Linked DNA regions of Homo sapiens: regions 1, 2, 4, 5 and 6 are each linked to region 3. The links are contacts of gene promoters, found by promoter capture Hi-C in blood cells and fetal thymus (Javierre and others, 2016). All regions are on one chromosome and are shown on one strand. The core of a region is centred on a gene start or on the middle of the fragment in contact, and the rest is flanking DNA. Distances in the headings are between cores, read along the strand shown. Region 1 overlaps SHE (Src homology 2 domain containing E). Region 2 holds the start of HCN3 (hyperpolarization activated cyclic nucleotide gated potassium channel 3). Region 3 holds the start of FLAD1 (flavin adenine dinucleotide synthetase 1). Region 4 overlaps LOC124904427 (a long non-coding RNA gene). Region 5 overlaps ADAR (adenosine deaminase RNA specific). Region 6 overlaps CHRNB2 (cholinergic receptor nicotinic beta 2 subunit).

Region 1 (4,082 bases), core at 878-3,377, 500 kb before region 3:
CCATACCGTCTCAGAAAAAAAAAAAAGTAGAATAAAGCAATCTGAAATAATCCACACCTTTTTTATCTTTTAAGTAAAATATGTTTCTTGCCAACAACATGCTGGTTGATAGCTTGATCAACAAATTGGCTTTTATGTGCTCATCAAGTAATAATTTATCTTTCCCTCAATCCAAATTAGTAAACCTGTTTATTTATGCACATAAATTAGAAGGCAATCATTTAAAAATGTCATGTAGAAAGTATTTTAAATTTGAATCAAGACATTACAGTGATTCATACTACATGATTCACAAAGGGGAAGTAATTCTGGTGCTACCTGTGGATTCTGGAAATGATAACCTCATGCCTCACACTGAATCTCCTCAAGGTATGTTTATCAGAGCTTAAATGACCTTCAGGACTTCACACTACCCAGTTCTACAGGCAGAGCCTCTCCCAAGCAGGGGAAAGGCTGCCTAGGCCCATGGACACAACTTGCCAGACCCAGCAGAGGATTGTCCTGGAGGTGGAGATGGATACCGAAAACCCAATTCCTTTTTCCCTTGCTCTGAGTCCATGTGCCCCTCTATGGGTAGAGAGCACATTGATCACACAGGTGACCTGAATGTCCAGTCTGCTAGATGCATTTCCATTGTAAGATAATAGACTGGCATTTTTGTGTGTGTGGTAAGAAATGCATTAACATAAAATTTACCATCTTAACCACCTATTTTAATTTTTTTTATAAGAGATGGGGTTTCACCACGTTGCCCGGGCTGGTCTCGAACTCCTTCGCTCAAGTGATCCGCCTACTTTGGCCTCCCAAAGCCCTGGGATTACAGGCATAAGCCACTACACTTGGCCTATGTTAACCATTTCTAAGTGTGCAGTTCAGCAGTGTTAACTACATTCATATTGTTGTGCACCCAATCTCCAGGACTTTTCATTATCTCATGCAGAAACTCTGGGCTGGGAATGGTGGGTCATGCCTATAATCTCAGCACTTTGGGAGGCCAAGGCTGGTGGATCACATGAGGTCAGGAGTTTGAGACCAGCCTGGCCAACATGGTGAAACCCCGTTTCTACTAACAATACAAAAATTAGCTGGGTGTTGTGGCGCATGCCTGTAGTCCCAGCTACTTGGGAGGCTGAGGCAGGAGAATTGCTGGAACCTGGGAGGTGGAGGTTGCAGTGAGTTGAGATTGCACCACTGCACTCCAGCCTGGGCGACAGAGCAAGACACTGTCTCAAAAAAAAAAAAAAAAAAAGAAAGAAAAGAAAAGAAAACTCTGCACTCATTAAACAACTCCCCATTTCCTCCTTCCCCAGCCCCTGGCAACTACCATTCTACTTTCTATGAATTTGACTACTCTGGGTACCTCATGTAAGTGGAATCATACAGTATTTGTCTTTTTGTGACTGACGGGTTTCACTCAGCGTAATGGTCTGTGTCAGGATTCCCTTCCTTGTTGAGGCTGAATGATACTCTGCTGTATTGCCAGCGTCAGTTATGGGAGTAGCAAGATAATGAAGCACACCCTGCCCAGTGGCTTCCAGAAGTTCCTGGTCTACAAGGTCAAGGAGCCGGAATGAAGCGCTGCTGATGTGCAACAAATTATACTGAGCTGAGATTGCTCACAATGTTTCCTCCAGAACCACAAGGCCACTGTGGAGCGAGCAGCCCCGTGGGCCATCAGTCACCACTCCCAAGGCCAGGCTGTGCAGCGAAGAAAATGAACAGACAACTCAGTCTATGTTTTGTTTTTAAATGAAATCATAAAAAGTGCAAAAAAAAAAAAAAAAAAAACACTCTAGAGTGAGACCTGGGCCGCAATCTGGGCTCTACCACTTACTATGACTGACCCAAGACAAGTTATTTCATCATTCTAAGCACCCGTGTTTTTATCTGAAAAACAAGGTTCCCACCTGGCTGAGTTGTGGCAGATTAAATGAGATGCTGTATGATGAAAAGCATTTGTTCAGCAGCACACCTGGTGCGGAAAAAGAGTCTATTCTCACTACTTACATCTTGGCCTTTCACAGGGTCAGAATCCAACATTCAACACTCAAACCCTGGGTGCTTGTAAACACGTGTTCAATCTGAATTCTGAAAACCATTACTCTAATTGCTCGGGTGGTGGGTGGCGGGAGCATTTCTTAATGCAAACTTCCTCTTCTCTTAAACACAGATGGGTTAAAACAATAGGCACTTGTTCCACCTGGTGGCAACTTACATAAATGTTTAATGGAAGTTAAAAACTTGAAACCATGTTAGGAATTTTGGAGGGGAAAACTTTTTGATAGCAGACTCAACAGTATGCCCTTCTAGGACCTGACGTGAATTTATTTGTGCATTTCCAAATAGGAGCTTCCAACAGGGCTTCTCCACCATTGGCTGTGTATCCAAATCACCTGGTACAATTTTTTTTTAAAATAGGTTTTTGAACTTTGCAACAGACTTAGGGCATCCCACAGATGGCATGGGACATTTGTATTAATAACAAACTGATAAAAACAGAAGCAGAGCCCAAATCTTCTATCTAGTGAGGGATGAGAACCAGTGCACTAACTTTCGACTCAGGAAGAGATGGGCCAGGAAATGGCAGTAAAACATCACTGTATTACTATTTTACTTGGGAAGAAAAACATAATAGAAGGACTCTAAATGTGAACAGAGTAAATAAAAGATAGAATCTGCTGGTTATGTTCCATCATGGTGTTTCTATATTTCATTAATGGTGACTGCAAATGAAACTCTGCTGTAGCTCTTACCATGGGAAGTATTTTTCTGAAGGAAGATGATTCTCAGAGCTAACTGAATTAAGCAAAACCACTGTAGTTTTCTTGGAATAATGTTTATTTAAAGTTACATTTCAGAGGAAACTATCTTCAGGAGGGCATGAAGCCTATATTGGCTACTGCAAAACAACCAGAAGTTTTATAAAATATTTCTGATTTAAATTACTAAGGCACTATAGATAGACACCTATATTACATACAATCTTCAAACATTTTTAAAAGTTGAAACTATGTATTAGTTGATATCTAAAATATTAAAGCCCCTGACAAACTGAACGGCTAAGAACTTGACAAAATGAGACGCCTGTTTCAATGATTCTGTTGCCAGCATATTAATTAAAATACAATTTGAGATTCTAAATTACACGATCCAGCCTTAGTCCAGGGACCTTGTGATGATAGTTGTATTAGACTTCAAAACACCCTTTCCGCAGGAAAGGGCATTTTTCAAGATGGCAACTGCTGTGTCATCATTTTCCCTTTTCTGGACTGTATCAGAAATCCTTCAGAAAGCCCTACCCTTAAATGCACAGCTGCTTTTCCCAACTGCAGTTTTCTCTTTTCCCATTAGATGGCAGTAACGCACCATCTCTCTTCACACAGGGTCAGCGGTGGAGGGTAAGTTGAACAGAAGGCCCACTGCACAGCAGGCCAAGTTTCTCTAGTCCACGTTAGTGGGGCACAAAAATTGGAAATGAGAATACAGAAGAGTGATTCTAACCAGGTCATAAGGCCAAACTAGTGCTAGTTATGGAAAAATAGGAGACAACTAGTGAACGAGAGATCTGTGAAGGGTTTCAGTGCAATCCTGCTGAGTGTCAAGGGGTGCGGGGAAGGGAAATGAAATCGACATCACTGCACTCCCTAAACCCTGGAAGGAGGGAGAAACAAGGGGCTAACCTTTGACTGAAAAAGGGCATCTGACAGAACAGAAACTAACCCCACTTAACCCGCAACTGAAGAATGCCTCACAGTTATTCTTCTGAATATCAAGATGCATCCAGTAACAACAGCCAATAACAGACTAGTAACAGAGTTACATAATCCAATTAACAAATTAGGACAATTTCCCACCACCTGCCTCAAAAACTCCTGGCTGCCCCTATCAGCTACCTGCCCACCTCCCCATCCTGCGGCAGAGGCTAGTACACAAATACCAATTCTGCAAAGTACGGAGACTTCCAACAGCAAAGAATAAAGGCTTTCTAAAATGCTTAAGAAAGTGCTTTGAATAACTTAAAATGACACTTCTGCCCCCAACAGAGAGTAGATATATCAATATTTACCTTTTTGTATACATAT
Region 2 (4,126 bases), core at 486-2,985, 290 kb after region 3:
GGGTCATGATCACACCACTGCACTCCAGCTTGAGCAACAGAGCAAGACCCTGACTCTAGAATGAGTAAATAAATAAAGTCAGGAAATATTAGAGAGGAGCTGGATGAAGGATGGTCAGATGGAGGTTAGATCAGATAACCAGACATAGTTTAGAGAAGTTCCCTGGAATAGAACATGGAGAGCAATCAATGAAGGAGTCGGGGAGAGAGAAGTAAAGATTTCACTTCCACCTCCTGGAACATTTTCCTAGATTATTAATTCATTCAACAAGCATTTACTGAATGTCCACTATGTGTCCAGAATTATGCCAGGTGCAAGGTTCCTGTTTCTCAGAGTTTCACAATCTAACAGGAGAGAAAATCTGTAAATAAATAATGAGACCATGCTCATGCCTGTAATCCTAGCACTTTGGGAAGCCAAGGCAGGAAGATCACTTGAGCTCTGAGTTCAAAACCAGCCTGGGCAACATAGTGTGACCTCATCTCTAAAATAATAATAATAATGGTAGCCCTGTGACATGAGTTGCTCAAAACAGTGGTGCCCTGGCTGCTGTAAAAAAGCTCTAGAATAGACCCTACCTGAGGAAAGGAGAGTTGGAAATGTGTTCCTAGGTTTCCTAGAGAAAGCAAGATCTGAACCAACTGTTCGAAAGTGAATTGGAGGAGAATACCAGGCAGAGAAAATATTTGCAAAAGCATAGAGACAAGGCAGCACAAAGTCTTTCAGCATGATTGGGGCTGTGGCTTTCAAGAGAGGGACTGTCAGAAGAGAGACTGTTGAAACTAGGTCCAAATTTTTTGGGCCTGGTACACCATGCTAAGCAGCTTAAATGTACCCCTGTAGAAGATGGGAAAGCTTGATGGGCTTCAAGCAAGTGACACAGCCATAGTTGGATTTTAGGAAGGTAACTGGCAGGGAATGGAAGAAGAATTGGCCTGGAAGAGGTTGAAGACTCTTTTAGAGGTTTCCGAAGTAATTTAAGTGAAAAAATGCTGAGGGCTTGAAATGAGGCAGTGGTAATAAGAATTGGAGATGAAGGGGAGAATTTGAGATATTTAGGAATTTGTAGCACTTCGCATAGCACTGCAATTTACCTGTCTGTCGTTGGGCACAGATGAGCAGTGGCTTTATGGCTAGGCCTTTGTTTTTGTTTTGTTTTGTGTTGTTTTCCATTACTACATGGAGATGCTAAGACTAGGACTTTTGTATTCATTTTTGTTTCCTCAGCATCCACTCAATGACAGGCAGAGTTGCACTTGGTGAAGGCTGACAGAATGAATTAGGAAATTAAATACTAGGGGAAGCAGTTCGGAGGAGACCAAAAGACAAGAATATGCCTAGGACAGTGTTGAGAGAAGACGGGAGCAGGACAGAAGTCCCTGGGCGAGAGTGGAGAAGAATCCCAAAAGCCATTTCCACTTCTTCCATTGGTCCCCAATCCCTCTCCCTCCCAAGTCCTTCAAGCTACAAACCCGCGTCCGATTTTCCCGCCACTGCAGGGGGCTCCTCCTCCCTGGTTCTCAGTGGATGAAAGGCCAACGCTAGGCCACGCCCTCTCCCTGGCTCAGGCTGCGCTCCCCGCCTTCTTTGCTAAGCCACGCCCCTCTCGGAGTTCCTCCAGGATCCCGGCGTCCCAGCCCCGCCCGGTCTTGGCGCGGCCCTCGCCAGGGGGCGCCGCGCAGCCCGCCCGCCGCCCGCCAGTCTAGCACACACCCCCTCCGCCCCGCGCGCCGGCGATTCCGAGCCTACGACGCCTCCGCTAGAGCCCGCGGGGCTGCGCCGACTCCTGCTCTGGAGGGGTTGCGGGTACCTGATGGCCACAGAGGGCTCTAGGAGGCCGAGCGTGTAAGCGGGGTGGGCGCCATGGAGGCAGAGCAGCGGCCGGCGGCGGGGGCCAGCGAAGGGGCGACCCCTGGACTGGAGGCGGTGCCTCCCGTTGCTCCCCCGCCTGCGACCGCGGCCTCAGGTCCGATCCCCAAATCTGGGCCTGAGCCTAAGAGGAGGCACCTTGGGACGCTGCTCCAGCCTACGGTCAACAAGTTCTCCCTTCGGGTGTTCGGCAGCCACAAAGCAGTGGAAATCGAGCAGGAGCGGGTGAAGTCAGCGGGGGCCTGGATCATCCACCCCTACAGCGACTTCCGGTATTGGGGGCTTGGCGGGGAGGGCAGGGTACATCAATCCCACCCTCGCGGGCAGCGACACCGGGACCCGGCCCGCCCCACCCTCCACGGTCACTTCATTTCCAGCCCGGGGTCCCTTGGTGGGGCGGGAGAGTCACTTGCACCAGTCTAGCCTGGGAATTCCTGGGCGGGTATCCCCTGCCGGAGGTCCTCCGTGCCTGGACAGGCTGGGGGCACCAGAAGGGGCAAGCAGACATCAGGGGATCTCCAGAGACCTGGATTTCCTCTTTCAGGAACCCGGGACCCCATCCGGACCAAAGGAACTACCAGAGTTTGGGACCCCTGCCTCCTCCAGTCCTGCTTGCTGGAGATCTAGGAAATTATATTCTAAGTATCGGGGCCAGTCTGAGGGAGAAGCCGAGCTCCGCCATCTCCCATCCCCACACCCGCTCCTTAGCACCTGCCTAGTTCAGCATGACAGACTACCAGGAAAAATAGGGACGCTGAAGGGGGCGGGGGGTCCAGACCTCAGCTCTGGTCGCTGTCCCTAGTGCTGAAGGCGGGGGCGGCGGGGCGGGGCCGAGACTCAGAGTGACTGAGGCGGCAAAGCAGGGGCAGGACCACCACCCAGGTGACTCCCAGAGAAGGAACAGAGGGTGGGGGTGGGGCCATTTCACAGTCTCCGTCAGGGTGTACCTCTACATCAAGGTCGCTAGGGGAAGACAGCAGCCCTGTCCTTGGGGGAAATGAAGGACAGCTCTTGGATGAGGCAGGGATGTGTGCAAAGCACCTAACCTGGGGAACTAAAGAAGCAGAGAGGAAGAGGTGTGAATCTGGAGCCTCGAAATACAGTTGTAGACCCAGACATTATCTTGAATCCACATATATACACACTCCCTCTATGTCTCTCTTCCTCCCATTGTTCCTTTCACTCCTGTCTTTGCTGCCTCGTTCCCACCCAGCCAGTGCGCCTTTTCTAGTCTCCTGTGGATCTCACTCTCTTCCCTCAGTTCACTCGCAGACGGATCCCCAGAAGCCTGGTATCCCTCTGATTGTGCTTCTCCATTCTCTATACTACATCACCCGCCAGGCTTGTGACCCACCTGTGAGTCAGGCTGTGAAGATGCTTTCATGGCTAGGCGAACCCTCTTTCCCTCCCCTCTCTTAGTGTCTCACAATACAGGATTCCTCCTCAGCAGCCGAGGAGAGAAAAGAAGAATGGCCGAGGGTTTTTGTTTATTGAAAACATACAGTCTAAGGGGCTTCCCAGAGGCCCGGACTTGAGGAAGTTTCTTTCAGGGCTGAAAATTGATTTTGCAGTCCGAGTCAGAAGGGGCTAGCTCCTGAGTTGACACTGGGATTAGGTGTGTCCTAGAATTAAAACCACCATAGGTAACTGAGTCCCTGAGATTTTCCTGTGCCATTCTCTGAATGAGGGCTTCACACAGTTCCCTCTTGACCTCTTCTTTCCACGGTGTCTGCCACAGCAATGTCACTCACCCCTGCCCATGCCTCTGCCTGTGCTCAGCCAGAGTCCCAGTGGACACAGGGAGGCCAGAGGAGGAAAGGTATGCAGAACTCAAGCCTTGCTGCTTCATGATCTCCTGTGGAGCTTCTCTGTGTGTGCAGCCCTGTTTGAGGTTCTGTGGAGGGGGAAGGGCATCCCTGGAAAGCTCAATTCAGAGGAAGGCAGGATAGACCACCCCACCCTGAGACATGGATGAGCAAACCTCAGCAGAGGAACAGGATCCGTGGGTCCAACTGTGTTGGAGAAGAGGAATGGGGTGGAGAAGGCTGGGGAGGGCATGAGGTCCTAGACTAGAATGGGCAGATAACTGGAGATGGGGGAAGCAGCAGCCTTTTCAGAAATCTGGGGATAAAGAGTGAGTGAGTCATAATACCAACTAGTGCCTGTACCACACTGTCACATCTATTGTCTCCATGTAAATGTTTTCAGCAATGCTGTGAGATTAGCACAGGATACTTTAGCTTTTTTTTTTAACCTT
Region 3 (4,516 bases), core at 216-2,715:
TGACCTCAGGTGATCCGCCCGCCTCGGCCTCCCAAAGTGCTGGGATTACAGGCGTGAGTCACCGCGCCCGGCCTTTTTTTCTTTTTTTCAATTGAGAGAACTCAAGCAATCCTCCCTCCTCAGACTCCCAAAGTGCTGCGCCCGACCAAGGGTTTTGAAGAGTAAAATTTGGCAAGGTGTGGTTTACCAGTCCTACAAAGAATGAATTCGGCCCGGCGCGGTGGCTCACGCCTGTAATCACAGCACTTTGGGAGGCCGAGGCGGGCGGATCACGAGGTCAGGAGATCGAGACCATGCTGGCTAACACAGTGAAACCCCGTCTCTACTAAAAAAAAAATGAAAATAAAAAAATTTTTAAAAAAAAGCCGGGCATGGTGGCGGGCGCCTGTAGTCCCAGCTACTCGGGAGGCTGAGGCAGGAGAATGGCGTGAACCCGGGAGGCGGAGCTTGCAGTGAGCCGAGATCGCGCCACTGCACTCCAGCCTGGGTGACAGAGGGAGACTCCGTCTCAAAAAAACAAAGAATGAATTCGGGCCCTTACCATTCAAAATGTAGTCCATAGAGCAGTGGGATCACCATCACATGGGAACTAGCTAAATGCAGATCTCAGGCCCCACCCAAACCTACTGAATCAATCTGCATATGAAAAGATCCCCAGATTATTGTTGGAAAAAAGTTTAAGATGTACTTTTAGAACAAAGGCAACTGAAATGGGGGTAAGCTCGGATGATGTGAGGATCCAGAGTAAACATGTAAGGCACTCCCTATTCGCTGCCTCATTTGCACCTACAAGACCAATTACTGGGAAAGGTCATTTGAACTAAGCACCATCTGGAGCAAGGTGGAGGAAGAGAGGGTTTTTGGACTCTTTCTTGTCAAAGAGATTTAAGTAATTCGTTTTGTCTACTATACTAGAGATAAATTAAGGTTCCACACATCAAAAGCTCACCTACTCCAGGGTCTTCATATCCGACAGACAGTGGTAATAATCTTTCTCGGTGTCCCTCCAACTTCCTTCTGCTATAAATAAGATGCTTTCTCACTCCAGTAAAAGCCCTTAGCCTAGTGTTAGAGTCACGGTGAATGAAAACAGCTTAAACCATGGCTAACTGACCCATTAAACAAAACAAAACAAAGCAACACATGCATAACAATTATTTGAATCCAGCACCAGAAACTCCCCGAGGGCCTTACAGCACCTTTAACTACGGCTCCTTTCCCGCCCTAAACTCCCGAGGTCCCGCCCCCGACCGTGGGCTAAGGTCCGGCCCCCGTATTTCCGGGCGAGAAGTGACCACGTGGTTGTCGCCTATAACAATCCGGCCCTGCTCCCATCCACTGGCTAAAGCCTGAGAGCGACAGTTGAATACACCAATGGGACCCTGGAAGAGTCTAAGCGACAGCCAAAATCACCATTCAATGTCAGCTAGGTGCAAGGCGGGACTTTAAGTACGGAAGCTGCCCCGGGACATGAGGAAAGGAACAAGGGAAAGAGCCGGTGAAGGGGCAGAACAGGCAGGTGAGAGTCTAAGAGGGCTCAGTAATCTGAAGCTTGGTGGGAAGAAGGGATTCTGGGCTAGAAAGGGTGCAGAAGCCTGAAGTAGAAAGAGACGGGATTTTGGTCCGGGGTGGAGAGCGAATGCATTGAAAAGGGCCAAGGCCCAGGATAAGGTAGACATTTAAAGGGGTACGGATGCCCAAGGTAGAGCAGACACTTGAGGAGACCAGCTCAGCAAACGGAAGACACTTAAAGTGGTAGGTTCTCAAGAGAGAAGAAGTTTTTAAGACTAGAGCTAAGCAAGACATTTAAAAGGACATGGGTTGGGATTTGGGAACACGTTTATTCCAGAGGCAGGAACAAAGGAGTCGCTTGTCAAGGATCTGGTTAGAGAAGACTAGGGTCTTCCTCGAAGGAAGCACGCGCACGCCTGCTCTCCCCCATTGTCTTTTCTGGCTTCTCCAGGTTCCCTCGACCCAGGACCCCCTGTTCCCAGGCTATGGCCCCCAGTGCCCTGTAGACCTGGCAGGCCCCCCGTGCTTGCGACCCCTATTTGGGGGTCTGGGTGGCTACTGGAGGGCCTTGCAGAGGGGCAGAGAAGGCAGGACCATGACATCTAGGGCCTCTGAACTTTCTCCGGGGCGCAGCGTGACGGCTGGCATCATCATTGTTGGAGATGAGATCCTTAAGGTGTGTCTGGGACAGAAAAGGGGGGAGGGCGCTGCGTTCTCCTGTCCTTAAGGGCCTGCTGCACATCCCTCCATGGAAGGAGGTGAAACAGGGTGGGAGCCTCTTTGCTGCAGTAGGATCCTGGAGTGAATCCAGCATATTGGAGGAAAATTAACCCTCATTCTTTCAATTACTCTACTGAAAAACTTGTAGCAAAGTCCCTACAATTTTTCAACCTGAGAGAGCTGATTGAAAAAAAGAAAAATAAAAAGGTCATTGCAATTTACCAAGCAGTATGGTAGAGGGCAGAGGAGCTACACAACAATGACAGGAAGCCCCTCGAGTAGAGGAGGTACAGGTGTGTGTATTGTATATTTAAGAGTTTTGGCCGGGTGCGGTGGCTCACGCATGTAATCCCAGCACTTTGGGAGGCCGAGGCGGGTGGATCACGAGTTCAGGAGTTCGAGACCAGCCTCAACATGGAGAAACCCCATCTCTACTAAAAATACAAAATTAGCCAGGCGTGGTGGTGCATGCCTGTAATCCCAGCTACTTGGCAGGCTGAGGCAGGAGAATTGCTTGAACGTGGGAGGCGGAGGTTGCAGTGAGCTGAGATCGTGCCATTGCACTCCAGCCTGGGCAACAAGAGCGAAACTCCGTCTCAAAAAAAAAAAAAAAAAAAAGAGTTTTACCCAGCCTTTTTGGAAATGACTCAAGGTACTCAGCGTAGTGGATAAGTGAGCTAGAAGGAAGGTACTAGAAGGGATGAATCCCCTCCGAATGATCAGGAAAGTCTTACTAGAGGACATAACAGATGACACGGGTTTTTTTGTTTTTGAGACAAGATTTTGCTCTGTCACCTAGGCTGGAGTGCAGTGGCACAGTCACAGCTCACTGAAGCCTCCATCTTCCAGGCTCAAGCAGTCCTCCTGCCTCAGCATCTGGAGTTGCTGTGACTACAGGTGTTAGCCGCCACACCTGGCTAATTTTTTTTTTTTTTTTTTTTTTTTTTTTTTTTTCAGAAACGGTCTCACTATGTTGCCCAGGCTGGTCTCAAACTCCTGGGCTCAAGCAATCCTCCCACACCTTGCTGGGATTATAGGCATGAACCACTGAGCTTGGCCAAATGTCAAGTTTTAATAATAATCTTTTTTAATATTCTTTGTAAATTTGTGTTTTTTTTGTTTTTTTTGTTTTTTTTTTTTAGATAGTCTCACTCTGTTGCCCAGGCTGGAGTGCATTGGTGGGATCTCAGCTGACTGCACCTCCACCTCTCGCGTTCAAGCAGTTCTCATGCCTCAGCCACCCGAGTAGTTGGGATTACAGGCATGAGCCACTGCACTCAGCCTTAATAGACCCTTTTTTTTTTTTTAGACAGAGTCTTGTTCTGTTGCCCAGGTTGGAGTGCAGTGGCGTGATCAATTTTGGCTCACTGCAACCTCCACCTCCCAGGTTCAAGCAATTCTCCTGTCTCAGCCTCCCAAGTGGCTGGGACTACAGGCATGTGCCACCACACCTGGCTAATTTTTGTATTTTTAGTAGGGACGGATGGGGTTTCGCCATGTTGGCCAGGCTGGTCTCGAACTCCTGACCTCAAGTGATCCACCCACCTCAGCCTCCCAAAATGTTGGGATTACAGGCGTGAGCCACCTCACCTGGCCCTGACCCCAATTTTTTTTTTTTTTTTTTTTTTTTTTGAGACAGAGTTTCACTTTTGTTGCCCAGGCTGGAGTGCAATGGCTCGATCTTGGCTCACCGTAACCTCCGCCTCCTGGGTTCAAGCGACTCTCCTGCCTCAGCTTCCCGAGTAGCTGGGATTACAAGCATGGGCCACCACGCCCGGTTAATTTTTGTATTTTTAGTAGAGACGGGGTTTCTCCATGTTGGTCAGGCTGGTCTCGAACTCCTGACCTCAGGTGATCCACCCGCTTCAGCCTCCCAAAGTGCTGGGAGGCATGAGCCACTGCGCCCGGCTGTGTGTGTGTGTGTGTGTGTGTGTGTGTGTGTGTGTGACGGAGTTTCGCTCCTGCTGCTCACGCTGGAGCGCAAATGGCGCAATCTCAGCTCACTGCAACCTCTGCCTCCTAGGTTCAGGCAATTATCTCACCTCAGTCTCCCGAGTAGCTGAGATTACAGGCACCCGCCACCACGCCTGGCTAATTTTTGTGGGGTTTTTGTTTGTTTGTTTTGAGACGGAGTCTCGCTCTGTCACCCAGGCTGGAGTGCAGTGGCGCGGTCTCGGCTCACTGCAAGCTCCGCCTCCCGGGTTCACGCCATTCTCCTGCCTCAGCCTCCCGAGTAGCTGGGACTACAGGCGCCCGCCACCACGACTGGCTAATTTTTTGTATT
Region 4 (4,478 bases), core at 981-3,480, 350 kb before region 3:
TATATGACCAGGAGGTGACAGTAGCACACTCAAGCTTTATTTGTGTGAGCTTTGACAGGTTTGTATTTAGGGGAAGTCCTTGGCAGCATGAGAAGATCCAGAGATTGGGGGTGGAGAGGAACCATCCAAAAGGGGAAAAGAGAAGGAAACTTCCAGAAGAGAGTGGCCTTACCATGTCCAGGTGATGTTGTTCAGCGGCCTGTGGGAAGTCTCTGTTTCAGAAAGCTCCCAAGGGCAGCAGCAAATTGGAGTCTTCATAAACCACAGATTTATCTTATCTATGACTAACAGATGTTGGGCACAGTTTCATGAGGTATACAAAGCAGGCAAGCAGCTCTAAATGCCTAAAAATCTGCTTAGTTGTGTTATATTTAAAATGCCTGGATGTATAAACATTTGAGTTAGGTGCTGAAAGGCTTTTGAGATAATAGATACCAGCTTGCTGTGAAGAAATAAACAACTCAGGGACCCAGATACAGAGGCCATCTTTGGCTCTTTATATAACAGTCAGTTTGAGTCTTTTATTATTGTTTTAGTGGATTGTTTGCTACATTATTCACAAACTTAGGGCACTGATTCTTCATCAGTTATATGTGTTGCAAATTTATCCTTCCATATGTATCCTTTCATTTTCTATTTTGGTAGATGTTCTTAACTTTGAATTTATTAATATTTATCCTGTTTTTCTTTTCCCCGTACCCTAATATTTATTCACTTACTCTTACTCCTAAAAATCTTTAAATCCTTATTCTCTCTGGAATTTACTTTTGTATATGGTGTGAGGTAGGGATCCCATTTTACTTTTTACATACAAATGACCTTTATTTTTCCCCAGGTTTGTTTATTGACTAGCCCCACCTTTCCCAACTTTCCCACCTTTCCCAACTTTGTTATATATCAACATTCCAGTTACTTATGGGTCTATTTCTGATCTATCTATTCTCTTCCACTGGAAAATTTGTCTATCTTGATGTCAACACCACATTATTTAATTACCACAGCTTTATAAAAAGTCTTGATATTTAGTAGTGCAAAATCTCCCTTTTATTCTTCATCCATCTTCTTTTTTTGGGCTATGCTTGGTCTTTAGTTTTCCCATATTTTAAGGCAAGCATCTCAAGTTGCACACACAAACAAGTTGCACACACACACACGCAGCAGTAACAACAACAAAAACCTGTTGGCATTGCATTGAATAATAAATAACTAATATATAAATTTGGAGAGAATTGACATTTTATGATTCTGAGTCTTCCATAAGCAAGGGATAACTTTCTTTTTATTAGGTCTTCATTAATGCTTTAATTTGGATTTATTATTCTCTTTGTCCAGATCTTGCACATCTTTTGGGGATTTTATTCCTAGATTCTTTGTAGTTTTTGTTGCTATTATAAGTGATGTCCTTTAAAAATATGCTTTCTAATTTTTTGATGATCATATAGAAATAAATTTGATTTTTGTACATTGATATTGTATCCAGCCACAATGCTAAACTCTTGTTTGTAGTAATTTATTTATTGATTCTTTTGGATTTTGTATGTAAACAATCATTATCTGAAAATAATGCCAGTTTCCCCCTTTCCTACGCCCAACCCTTATTGCTTTTTATCTATCTTAAAGTGTTACACTGGTTTGGCCAGGCTCAGTGGCTCATGCCTGTAATCCCAGCACTTTGGGAGGCCAAGGCGGGCAGATCATGAGGTCAGGAGATTGAGACCATCCTGGCTAACATGGTGAGACCCTATCTCTACTAAAAATACAAAAACTTAGCCGGGCGTGGTGGCGGGTGCCTGTAGTCCCAGCTACTTGGGAGGCTGAGGCAGGAGAATGGAGTGAACCCGGGAGGCAGAGCTTGCAGTGAGCTGAGATTGCACCACTGCACTCCAGCCTGGGCGACAGAGCCAGACTCCATCTCAAAAAAAAAAAAAAAGTGTTACACTGGTTTGGGGGAGAAGGCAGTGCATTGTTCCAGTACAGTGTTATTGGAAATGGTGATAGTGGGCATTCTTGATGCTCTTGATATTCGAAAGGGAAACTTAGTATTATTTTTGTATATTTTATGATAAAACATTTAGAATGATATTTTTGTAGGCGTTTTGTAAATCTCCTTTATCAGGTTAAGGAAGGTACCTTTTATTCCTAGTTGAATAAAATTTAAAAATCTTGAATGGATTTGAATTTAATTTATTTCTACATCTATTGAAATCATCACACAATTTCTTTCTCCCTTTAATATGTTAATATGGTAGATGACATTTATAGATTTTATATTAAACTACTTATCCTTGCATTCCTAGGATAAACAACTGGACCATAAAGTCTCAATTTTATATGCTATTGTGCTCTATATATTCTATGTCTATGTTATATTCTATGTAGGATTTTTGCGTTTGTGTTTATGAAAAACATGGACTTGTGATATTCCTTTCTCATTCTGTCTTGATCTGTTTGGGTTTCAAGGCTCATAAAGTGACATAAGGAGTATTCCCTTTTTTTGTATCCTCTGGAAGAATTTTAATAAGATTGGAGTGATTTTCCTTTCAAGCATCAGTAGAATTCACCAGTAAAACTGTCTGGAGCTGGGTGCAGTGGCTTACACCTATAATCTCAACTACTTGAGAGGCTCAAGCAGGAGGATCACTTGAGGCAAGGAATTCAAGACCAGACTGAGCAACAAGACTCCATCTCCAAAAAACAAAAACCAAACAAAACAGAACAGAACAGCACAGCAAAACCATCTCGGCTGGGTATTTTCCTTGTGTGAAGTTTGTAAAATACGACTTTGGTTTATTTAATAGTTATGAAACTGTTCAATTATTTTCTTTCTCCTTGAGTCAGTTTAATAAAATAATAGGTTCTAGAATTTTTTCCATGTCATCTAAGGGTTTAAGCTCATTGGCATAGTTATTGATTGTATTATCTTCTTAATCTCTGCTGTATTTATAGCTCTTTTTTCATTTATAATATTACTTGTGGTAGACTGTGTTATTGCTCTCCAAATATTTGTTCCTTTTCTTATAAGAGGACTATACATTTCTACCTAATGCTATGTGACTTGAGGTGACTCTTGTGACAGAAGAATGCATACCCAACCAGCTGTCAATGGGCTTGATCATCGTACATGAACAGAAACTTTAAAAGATATCGTACATGTTTCTACCAGCTTTCTTGCTCTTTTCTCTCTTCCATGAGAATGGCATGTGCGTGATTGGGGACCCCAGAATGAAGAATACATGTGGAGGAGAGCCCAGCAGAGTCAACATATATAGCAAATAAGAAATAAACACAGAGATTTGGGATTTTGTAGTTACCAAAGCATATTATAGTGAAAACTGACTGATAAAAATTATTTGCCTTTAACTTCTTATCATTTTTTCTTAGATAAATCATTGCAGAGGTTTATTTATTTTGTTGGTATTTTTCAAAGAACCAACTTTGTCCTTGTTGATTCTCCCTGTTTTCTATTTCGTTTCTATCTCTAGTTCTGCTCTTATAATTATCCCCTTCCTTCCATTTTCTTCGAGTTTATTCTGTTATTTCTTAAAGTTGTGTGTTTAGTTTATTAATTTTCAGCCATGTTTTTCTTGTCTTTAAAAACATTTAAGGCAGTAAATTTCCTTCAAAGCACTGCTTTCTGTATCCCACAAGTTTTGATATATAACATTTTTATTATTATTCAGTTCAAAAATATTTAAATTTTTATTGTAGTTTCTTCTTTGACTCATTATTTAAAAGATATGTTCTTGCCAGGCATGGTGGCTCGCACCTGTAATCCCAACACTTTTGGAGGGTGAGGCTGGAGGATCATTTAAGCCCAGAAGTTTGAGACCAGCCTGGGCAAAATAGTGAGACCCCATCTCTACTAAAAAAATAAAAATAAAAAATTAGCCAGGCATGGTAGTCCTAGCTACTGGGGAGGCTGAGGTGGCAGGATCACTTGAGCCCAGGAGTTTGATGCTGCAGCCTGGGTAACAGAGACCTTGTCTCTTCTGACATATTTGCATTGTTATCATAATTTTTATTATACTTTTAGGTCGGGCATGGTGGCTCATGCCTGTAATCCCAGCACTTTGGGAGGCTGAGGTGAGCAGATCACCTGAGGTCAGGAGTTCGAGACCAGCCTGGCCAACATGGTGAAGCCCCATCTCTACTAAAAATACAAAAATTAGCTGGGCATGGTGGTGCCCGCCTGTAATCCCAGCTACTCAGGAGGCTGAGGCAGGAGAATCGCTTGAACCCAGGAGGCAGAGTTTGCAGCAAGCCGAGATGGCGCCATTGCACTCCAGCCTAGGCAACAAGCGCAAAACTCAGTCTCAAAATAATAATAATAATAATAATAATAATAATAATAATGTTTATTATACTTTTATTTAAAATGTAGTGATATTTGCCTAATTGGTTAATTTATAATCTAATCTGAGAAATACAAGCTTGATAAGAATTTGTATTCTCTCATTGTTAGGTACAAAATTGATATA
Region 5 (4,425 bases), core at 584-3,083, 390 kb before region 3:
AGTTATGCACAGCAATTTCTAGAAGGACTCAAGAAACTGGTATAGTCATGTACTGCATAACAGTGTTTTGTTCAATGATAAATCACACATATGACAGGGGCCCCGTAAGATTATGATGGAGCTGAAAAATTCTTATCACCAAGTGCAGGGCTCTGTAACCTGTTAGGAACCTGGGCACACAGGAAGAGGTGAGTGGCGAGCAAGAAAGCATTCTGGTCCGAGCTCCGCCTCCTGTGGGATCAGCAGCAGCATGAGATTCTTGTAGGAGTGTGAACTCGACTGTGAACTGTGAATGCGAGGGATCTAGGCTACACGCTCCTTATGTGTTTACTATATTTTTATCATTATTTCAGCGTATACTCCTTCTACTTCTAGAAAAATAAGTAACTAAAAAAAGCCTCAGGCAGGTATTCCAGAAAGCACTGTTACCATAGGAGATGACGGCCCCCATGCATGTTATTGCCCCTGAACACCTTACAGTGGGACAAGACGTGGAGGTGGAAGACAGTGATACTGAGGATCCTGACCCTGTGTAGGCCTAGGCTAACAGCTAATGTATTTTCATCTTAGCTTTCAACAAAAAAGTTTAAAAAGTTAAAAAAATAAAAAAATTTACAAACAGAAAAAAGACTATAGAATTAAGGATATAAACAAAGGAAATATTTTTGGATAGCAGTACAACATGTTTGTGTTTTAAGCTAAGTATTATTACAAAAGGAACAAAAAATAAAAAAGTTAATAAAGTAAAAAATAAAGTAAAAATAAAGTAAAAAAGTTACAGTAAGCTAAGGTTAATTTATTAAAGAAAAATATTTTAAATAAATGTAGTTAGCCTAAGTGAACAGTGTTTACAAAGCCTACATTAGTGTACAGTCATGTCCTAGGCCCTCATATTCATTCTCCACTCACTGGCTGACTCACCCACAGCAACTTCTAGTCCTGCAAGCTCCATTCATGGCAGGCGCCCTATACAGGTGTAGTATTTTTTTAATCCTTTATGCTGTCTTTTTACTGTATCTTTTTGCTGTTTAGATAGACACCAATACTTACCAGTGTGTTGCAGCTGCCCACAGTATTCACTACAGTTACATGCTGTACAGGTTTGTAGCCTAGGAGCAACCGGCCATACCATACAGCCTGTACGTGTGTAGGAGCCCATGCCATCTAGGTTTATGTAAATACACACTGATGTTCTCACAACAACAAAACCATGCTTCTCAGACCGCATCCCAGTTGCTAATGCAGGGCTATAGTAATATATGGGTCTAGGGAGGGAAACTAGAAGTCTGAGACGGAAATGAGACTTTTCATTGAAATGACTACTTTTTCAATCAGCTTGAATGATTTTTTTCAAGATGGAGTCTTGCTCTGTTGCTCAGGCTGGAGTGCAGTGGTGCGATCTCAGCTCACTGCAACCTCCGCCTCCCAGCTTCAATCAATTCTCCTGTCTGCCTCCCGAGTAGCTGGGATTACAGGCACCCGCTGCCACGCCCAGCTAATTTTTGTATTTTTAGTAGAGACAGGGTTTCCTCATATGGTCCGGCTGGTCTTGAACTCCCGACCTCAGGTAATCTACCTGCCTCAACTTCCCAAAGTGCTGGGATTACAGGCGTGAGCCACCATGTCTGGCCTGAATGATTTTTTAATGTACCTATACATTTCTTTAAAAATTAAAACTAGTCAAAAAATTAAAAAGGATCATGCTTACTGGAAGAGTGAACGCATTCACTCTTGGCAGGTCTATTGTCTTCTAAGAGGCCGTGGAGACAGGGCTGGACTTGTTTCCCTCAACTCGCCCCTTCTGTCCTACACAGCTAAAGCACACCCTTGTTTTCCCTGGGTTACAGACCATCCCCAACTGGTGACACATGCATTAGCCAGGACTAGGACACTCACTTGGGCTCGTGAGGAGGTCCGGACTGGTCGACCAACTTGAATTCAGCAGCAAAGCCATGGGAGCGGGCGTACTCCAAAAGGCCACCCACAGGGTTGGTGTTCAGGTATCTCACGAGCTCGCCAATCTTCCTGACCTTGTTGGGCATCATGGATTCCAAGTTATCAAGTGACTCTGAGATCATACCTTCAGGCTAAAGGAGAATCCATCAAACAGAGGAGCCATAAACACTTCAGGAAATGTTGAGGGAGTCACTGGCAATCTTAAACCACTCAGTTGCTAAAAATGACCTGTATCTTTTGAGTAGGAAAACGCCCTACCTGGTTATCAGAAGCCATGGAGTTGGTCGCCTCCCCATGCAGGGCCTTCATGGCTTCCTCTGCGGCCATCTGCTTTGCCACTTTCTTGCTGGGAGCACTCACACTGGGGAAAGTTTGGGCTCCCACTGCAACACAGTATTGGAACCTGACAGGAGATGAAGCACGTAGAAGGATTAAAATGGTTTTGACTGAGGAGCCTGACCTAGCCTCTGCCAGGCTGCCATCCTCCACTACTGGTAATTTCCTTGAACACATCACCTCTGTGCAGTCACATCTCATGCAGTCACTTCTGCCTTGAACAGCCAGTGTCTCTTAGCCTGGCTGACCCCTTTCAACATTTAAGCATCAACCTAGTTTCACCTCTTCCAGGAACACTTCTCTTGAACATGTGAGTCTATAGACCCACAGGCAGAGAGCTTCTCAGGTCCTGTACCTTTCTGTCCCACCAACAGTGAGTGACCTCCAAGCCGTGAACCTCCCTAGTGCTTATAGAGGAGATAGAGGGTGGGCCAGGAATTCCCTTTGAATTCCTAATCCCTAATTGTCTGCCTCACAAGCAGCAACCAGGACCTCAGAGCCCTCCTTTCCCCATTTTGAAACAGGAGAAATTGGTCAATCTGCCATCCCTGAGGAGGCAAGGAAGAAAATGTGTCTCTTTTTCTTTCTGAGAAAACCTCAGCTGGACAGAGGACACGTAGGACATACTTGGGTTCATGGGCAGGGCCTTCTTTGGACAGGAGACGGAATTCGCAGGAGTTCCCCAATTTGTGCATACACTCAAGCAGTGTGGTGACGGGGCTCTTCCCAGAAAAGAAGGATGTGGCTGAAGGGGTGGGGGTCTGGGACTCTGCAGTCTAGAGAAAATGAGAGACAAGAAGAAAACAAAACTAAGAAAACACTGGTTAGTCCATCACAGAAGAAGGGATGGGGATGGGGGACTTTATTCCCACCACCTGTCAAGGGGTTGGCTTCCCAAAGTTAAAGGGGCTGCTGGAGCTCTCATTCCGCATCTTCCAAGAGAGGAGATTGGCCTCAATAAACTTTCAGGTCTCTTTCAAGTCCGAAATTCTGTAAATCCAATTATGTTGGGACAGGAGCAGACAGAGGAGCTGGGTATGAGAGGAGGAAAGGTGGGCTGGCGAGATAGGGTAGAGGGAAGAGTGGGAAGCTGACTCCGAGATGGTGTCAGTTGTTTAGGCTGGGATTGCCTCAAGGGAGTCAGTTACAATCCAGACACTGACAGGGAACTGATCCTCCCAGATGGCAGGAGGACACCTACCTTCTCTGATTCTTTCTCTGTGGAATAGTGGGATGATTCTTCTGATTTTCCACTGTCCTTGGCTTTGGCTTCCTCTAGCAGAATTGTCATGGCTTTCATAGCTGCATCCTGCTTGGCCACTTTCTTGCTTCCAGCTTCAGCTGGGGGAAACTCTCGGCCATTGATGACAACCTGGAATTTAAATCTTGACGGAAAGTGATTAGATGTGTGAACAGGAGTCTAGGTCACTCCTTCTGCCTTCTCCAAAGAGACCTTCAACCTGGAATTTTCTGCTACGCTAAGGGGCTTTTCACTTGTGGAGATGAAGGGTAGGCCAAGGAACTCCTTCCTACTCCTTAAGGCTCAGCCTGTCCTTTCTTTTTGTAAACAAAGCAGCCAGTGACTCTTTCCCCATAGCTCAGTGAAGCAAACATAGGCACAGATGATAGGAAACTAGCTCAGGGGAAACCCACTATCTCTTTAACAATGAATTAAGATAAAACCCACACACACAAAAATGATGAGCCAAAAATTACCATTATAGTCTTGTGAGCAACCAAAAGACCTTCATTCTAAAGCAATTGTGGTAGACTGGCCTCCTCAAGGGAGGGTCCTAAAAGATAGTGAAGGCTTCTTATAACCCAGTCTCACACTCCCCACTACCTAGGGGGATCAGGCATCTGCCACTTATCAGTGGCCTGCTTTTGTCCCTAGACCTATATCACCGTAGTTTGTTATGAGTCACTCTATAGCACCATTTGTCTCCAGCTATTTTCTACATAACAAGGAATTTCCCCTTGTTATGTAGAAAATAAAAAAGCATTTGTTCTAGGCCTCTGGACTTAGCCTAGGCCCCCTTTGTTCAAGCTTTCAAATGTGGTGAGCTCTTTGCTCAGTCTGGGATTTCATTTAGAAAAGTAGGTCAAATTTCTTATTTCCTAGGTCTTCTGATA
Region 6 (3,884 bases), core at 49-2,548, 410 kb before region 3:
ATTTGTAAATGTAGATTCTAATACTGTACCTTGGCCTAGCTGTGCAAATTAAATGAGAAAGTACCACATGAGCCATACCTGATGGGCAGAGAAGTCACTGTGGGGAAGAGGCTGGCTTTTAAAAGGTCCCTCAAGCCATATGGGCCCCCTCTAGTTCGTTTCCTTAACCTTGAGCCCCACCCAGGGCACAAGTTGGTACTGCCTCCCTCTCTCATTTCCCAGGAGTGGGAAGATTATCGCCTCACCTGGAAGCCTGAAGAGTTTGACAACATGAAGAAAGTTCGGCTCCCTTCCAAACACATCTGGCTCCCAGATGTGGTCCTGTACAACAAGTAGGTGCAATGGGAAGGTTGGGGGAGACCATTGGAGGGCTCAGGGAGGGAAGGGGTTCTGGGGAAAATAAGAGAAATTACTTATGCTGTGGGAGGGGAGGGACTTATAATAGATATGTAGTCACTACCTAGACAGACAGACCCAGACCAGTGAGGTACAGCGTGGACAGCCAAGGTGACCTGGGCAATGACCAGCCCACTCCCAGCCGGTTAGGACTCCCAGTATGTATTTGATGATGTGGTGGGGATACAAACAAGTATTGACAGCCCCCAGCGCCTCAACTGATTCAGGAACAGGCTTTCCTGGAAGCCTGGGAAGGATCAAAGAACTTTAAGGTCCCAGTTTCTCCTCCAGGTTCTATCCTGTCTCCTGCAATAATCCATCTTATCTCTAGGGTACAAAGCCACCTTCCTCAACTGATGGGACCATGCCCTGTCCCCTTCCATTGCTTGGGGCTCCTCACTCTGGCCTCCTGGCTCCCCTGACTTCTCCACCCTCATGAGGATCAACCAGCTTATACAATGTGTGACAAGTAGCAGATGTGTCCCCTTCCTCCACCCACCACCCCCTTCTACCTGCAAGGTGTCACACAGGCCTTCTGACCAGGACACTTCTTCTGGTCACTAACCTTCCCCCCCCTCCCCATATCCCCTTCTTGCTCAATTCCACCTCTCTATACTCCTGGATGGTTACTCTCAGATCTGGGTGTCCCCTCCCCATGTCTCCCTCTGGTTTTGCTCTCCTCCCATTAGGGGCTGGGTTGATGGGTAAGGAGGAAGGAACGCTTAGGCCAGGGCTGACTGTGCCCATCCTTTGGCAGTGCTGACGGCATGTACGAGGTGTCCTTCTATTCCAATGCCGTGGTCTCCTATGATGGCAGCATCTTCTGGCTGCCGCCTGCCATCTACAAGAGCGCATGCAAGATTGAAGTAAAGCACTTCCCATTTGACCAGCAGAACTGCACCATGAAGTTCCGTTCGTGGACCTACGACCGCACAGAGATCGACTTGGTGCTGAAGAGTGAGGTGGCCAGCCTGGACGACTTCACACCTAGTGGTGAGTGGGACATCGTGGCGCTGCCGGGCCGGCGCAACGAGAACCCCGACGACTCTACGTACGTGGACATCACGTATGACTTCATCATTCGCCGCAAGCCGCTCTTCTACACCATCAACCTCATCATCCCCTGTGTGCTCATCACCTCGCTAGCCATCCTTGTCTTCTACCTGCCATCCGACTGTGGCGAGAAGATGACGTTGTGCATCTCAGTGCTGCTGGCGCTCACGGTCTTCCTGCTGCTCATCTCCAAGATCGTGCCTCCCACCTCCCTCGACGTGCCGCTCGTCGGCAAGTACCTCATGTTCACCATGGTGCTTGTCACCTTCTCCATCGTCACCAGCGTGTGCGTGCTCAACGTGCACCACCGCTCGCCCACCACGCACACCATGGCGCCCTGGGTGAAGGTCGTCTTCCTGGAGAAGCTGCCCGCGCTGCTCTTCATGCAGCAGCCACGCCATCATTGCGCCCGTCAGCGCCTGCGCCTGCGGCGACGCCAGCGTGAGCGCGAGGGCGCTGGAGCCCTCTTCTTCCGCGAAGCCCCAGGGGCCGACTCCTGCACGTGCTTCGTCAACCGCGCGTCGGTGCAGGGGTTGGCCGGGGCCTTCGGGGCTGAGCCTGCACCAGTGGCGGGCCCCGGGCGCTCAGGGGAGCCGTGTGGCTGTGGCCTCCGGGAGGCGGTGGACGGCGTGCGCTTCATCGCAGACCACATGCGGAGCGAGGACGATGACCAGAGCGTGAGTGCCGCAGGCTGGGACCCCGGGCGTGAGATATGGGGTCTGCCAGGGCCCGGGTATCTGGAAAGCAGCGGCGTTCTATAGACATGCAGAGGTAGTAGGAGTGTAGGGGAGGAAAATGTGAGTCAGGCCTGTGTTGCGGGCCTGGGTGCTGGCTAGGGCCCTTCTGGGTTGGCTTCCGGGAGATTGTGCGGCCTAAATTGGAGTCGGTGGAAGATGACCTTGCTGCTTCCTGAGGGCTAGCACCCAGGGCAAAATGCCTGAGCTGGGGCATCGTTATATGGGCAGGGAGGCCTGAAACACGAGGAGGCCCTTTAGGGTTGGCAGCCAGCCTGTGGCCGTGACCCCGAGAGTCCCTCCCCACCCCCCGCTGCTTGCATGCCCACATCCAAGTTGTTAACCTGCAGCTCTTAGCACAAGTGATGAGTCTTTTGTGCACCACACAGGCAGGAGGGGGCAACATTGAGGACAGTAGGAGTGGTGTGTATTGGGGGAGGGGTGGCGTTGGTGGCGGGGTTAGAGATTCCAGGAGCCTGCTTGTGGTGGAGAGCATGGAGTCCTAAATCAATATCCCTGCTCTTCTGAGTCCCAGGGGATGGCCTCCTGAAATATTTATGGAGATGGGGGTGGGTGAAGGGGAAGGCTCCTTGGCCCCTTCCTCAGGCTTTCTGCATACCCGGCTTTTGGCTTCTTCTACAGGGTTCCCTGAGAGCTTCTTTGAGACTGAGCCAAGAGTTGGGGGGAGATATGATAGGCTGACATCCCCCCGACCCCGCACTTTGGGTAGGGGCCGGCCCCACCCTGTGGTCAGTCTCTGGCTACCTGGCTGGTTCCAGGCTGAGGCTCAGCTGTTGCCATGGTGACTGGCCAGGTTTCCTCTAGGACAGCTGCCATTCTGGCTGGGGGATGAAGAAGGGCACTGCGGTGTGGGCCTCAGAGATCTGTTTCCCTGGACAGCAGGAGATGGGTTGGAGCTGAAGCTTGGACCAGGGAGCATACACTAGAGGAGATGGGGTGGGAACCTTAGAGCCAGCTGAGGCCAAGTGGGAGATGCTGGGATTCAGGGACTCAGCAGGCTGTGGTTACCGCCTCCACCTCTCCTGCTGCAGTCATGCATGTATTGTGCATTTACCGAGCTAGGTGCTGAGGATGTGGTGACCTACTTGGATGCTTCACAGGCACCTCAAACTCAACATGCTCAAAACTGAGTATTTGGTCTACATCCTAACCACCAACTTGCTCCTCCACCAGTTTTTAGTACACGGCATCACCATTCACTTAATGGCTCAGACTGAAAACCCAGAGGGATCCTTGATCCTGTCCTTTCTCACCTCCCTCTCTGTCCAATTCATCAGAAGTCTTGTCCTGTCACAACCCCAAAGTCATTCTCAGCTTCATCTGTTTTTCAGCATCTCCATGCTAACACCCTGGTTCTAGGACATCATCAGCTCTTGCCTGGCCTAGGGCAGAAGAGTCTCCTAATAGTCTCCCTGATTCAGCTCCTGTGCTCCTGCATCCAAATAGATGTCTCCCTCACGGCTCATGCCTTTCCCTCCTTGCCCAGGTCACTGGTCACTGGCTTATCTTTTATTTATTTATTTTTTTGATATGTGTTTCGCTTTTATTGCCCAGGCTGGAGTGCAGTGGTGCGACCTCGGCTCACTGCAATCTCCGCCTCCGGGGTTCAAGCGATTCTCCTGCCTCAGCCTCCCGAGTAGCTGGGATTATAGGTTCCCGCCACCACGCCCAGCTAATTTT

What was found. Contacts are between HindIII fragments. The CHiCAGO score rates a contact against its expected background, and 5 or more counts as called.
Region 1: a fragment that was not itself captured here is called in contact with the fragment with the promoter of FLAD1 in region 3 in 1 of 17 cell types (neutrophils); the score reaches 5.1 in neutrophils.
Region 2: the fragment with the promoter of HCN3 here is called in contact with the fragment with the promoter of FLAD1 in region 3 in 1 of 17 cell types (monocytes); the score reaches 5.6 in monocytes.
Region 4: a fragment that was not itself captured here is called in contact with the fragment with the promoter of FLAD1 in region 3 in 1 of 17 cell types (fetal thymus); the score reaches 5.2 in fetal thymus.
Region 5: a fragment that was not itself captured here is called in contact with the fragment with the promoter of FLAD1 in region 3 in 1 of 17 cell types (total B cells); the score reaches 5.2 in total B cells.
Region 6: a fragment that was not itself captured here is called in contact with the fragment with the promoter of FLAD1 in region 3 in 2 of 17 cell types (fetal thymus and endothelial precursors); the score reaches 5.8 in fetal thymus.

What each region holds. Positions count from the first base shown.
Region 1 is chr1:154,476,661-154,480,742 of GRCh38, forward strand. It overlaps SHE (Src homology 2 domain containing E), which reads right to left. Exons shown (of 6, transcript NM_001010846.3): 6 at 2,821-4,082. Among named protein-coding and RNA genes, the nearest start is that of TDRD10, 24 kb to the right of the region's middle. The HindIII fragment of the contact is 5,610 bases long and covers 1-4,082 here.
Region 2 is chr1:155,275,728-155,279,853 of GRCh38, forward strand. It overlaps HCN3 (hyperpolarization activated cyclic nucleotide gated potassium channel 3), which reads left to right and starts at 1,736. Exons shown (of 8, transcript NM_020897.3): 1 at 1,736-2,141. The coding sequence starts at 1,864. The HindIII fragment of the contact is 9,883 bases long and covers 854-4,126 here.
Region 3 is chr1:154,981,879-154,986,394 of GRCh38, forward strand. It overlaps FLAD1 (flavin adenine dinucleotide synthetase 1), which reads left to right and starts at 1,466. Exons shown (of 7, transcript NM_025207.5): 1 at 1,466-2,188. The coding sequence starts at 1,817. RefSeq lists enhancers at 1-118, 719-1,316, 3,734-4,423 and a silencer at 1,199-1,378. The HindIII fragment of the contact is 2,398 bases long and covers 1-1,549 here.
Region 4 is chr1:154,629,098-154,633,575 of GRCh38, forward strand. LOC124904427 (a long non-coding RNA gene) reads left to right here. Exons shown (of 2, transcript XR_007066635.1): 2 at 2,461-3,299. Among named protein-coding and RNA genes, the nearest start is that of ADAR, 23 kb to the left of the region's middle. The HindIII fragment of the contact is 4,396 bases long and covers 33-4,428 here.
Region 5 is chr1:154,594,909-154,599,333 of GRCh38, forward strand. It overlaps ADAR (adenosine deaminase RNA specific), which reads right to left. Exons shown (of 15, transcript NM_001111.5): 3 at 3,494-3,677; 4 at 2,920-3,068; 5 at 2,215-2,359; 6 at 1,897-2,087. Among named protein-coding and RNA genes, the nearest start is that of ADAR, 11 kb to the right of the region's middle. The HindIII fragment of the contact is 5,008 bases long and covers 1-4,337 here.
Region 6 is chr1:154,570,036-154,573,919 of GRCh38, forward strand. CHRNB2 (cholinergic receptor nicotinic beta 2 subunit) reads left to right here. Exons shown (of 6, transcript NM_000748.3): 4 at 223-332; 5 at 1,154-2,126. Among named protein-coding and RNA genes, the nearest start is that of CHRNB2, 4.2 kb to the left of the region's middle. The HindIII fragment of the contact is 3,612 bases long and covers 1-3,104 here.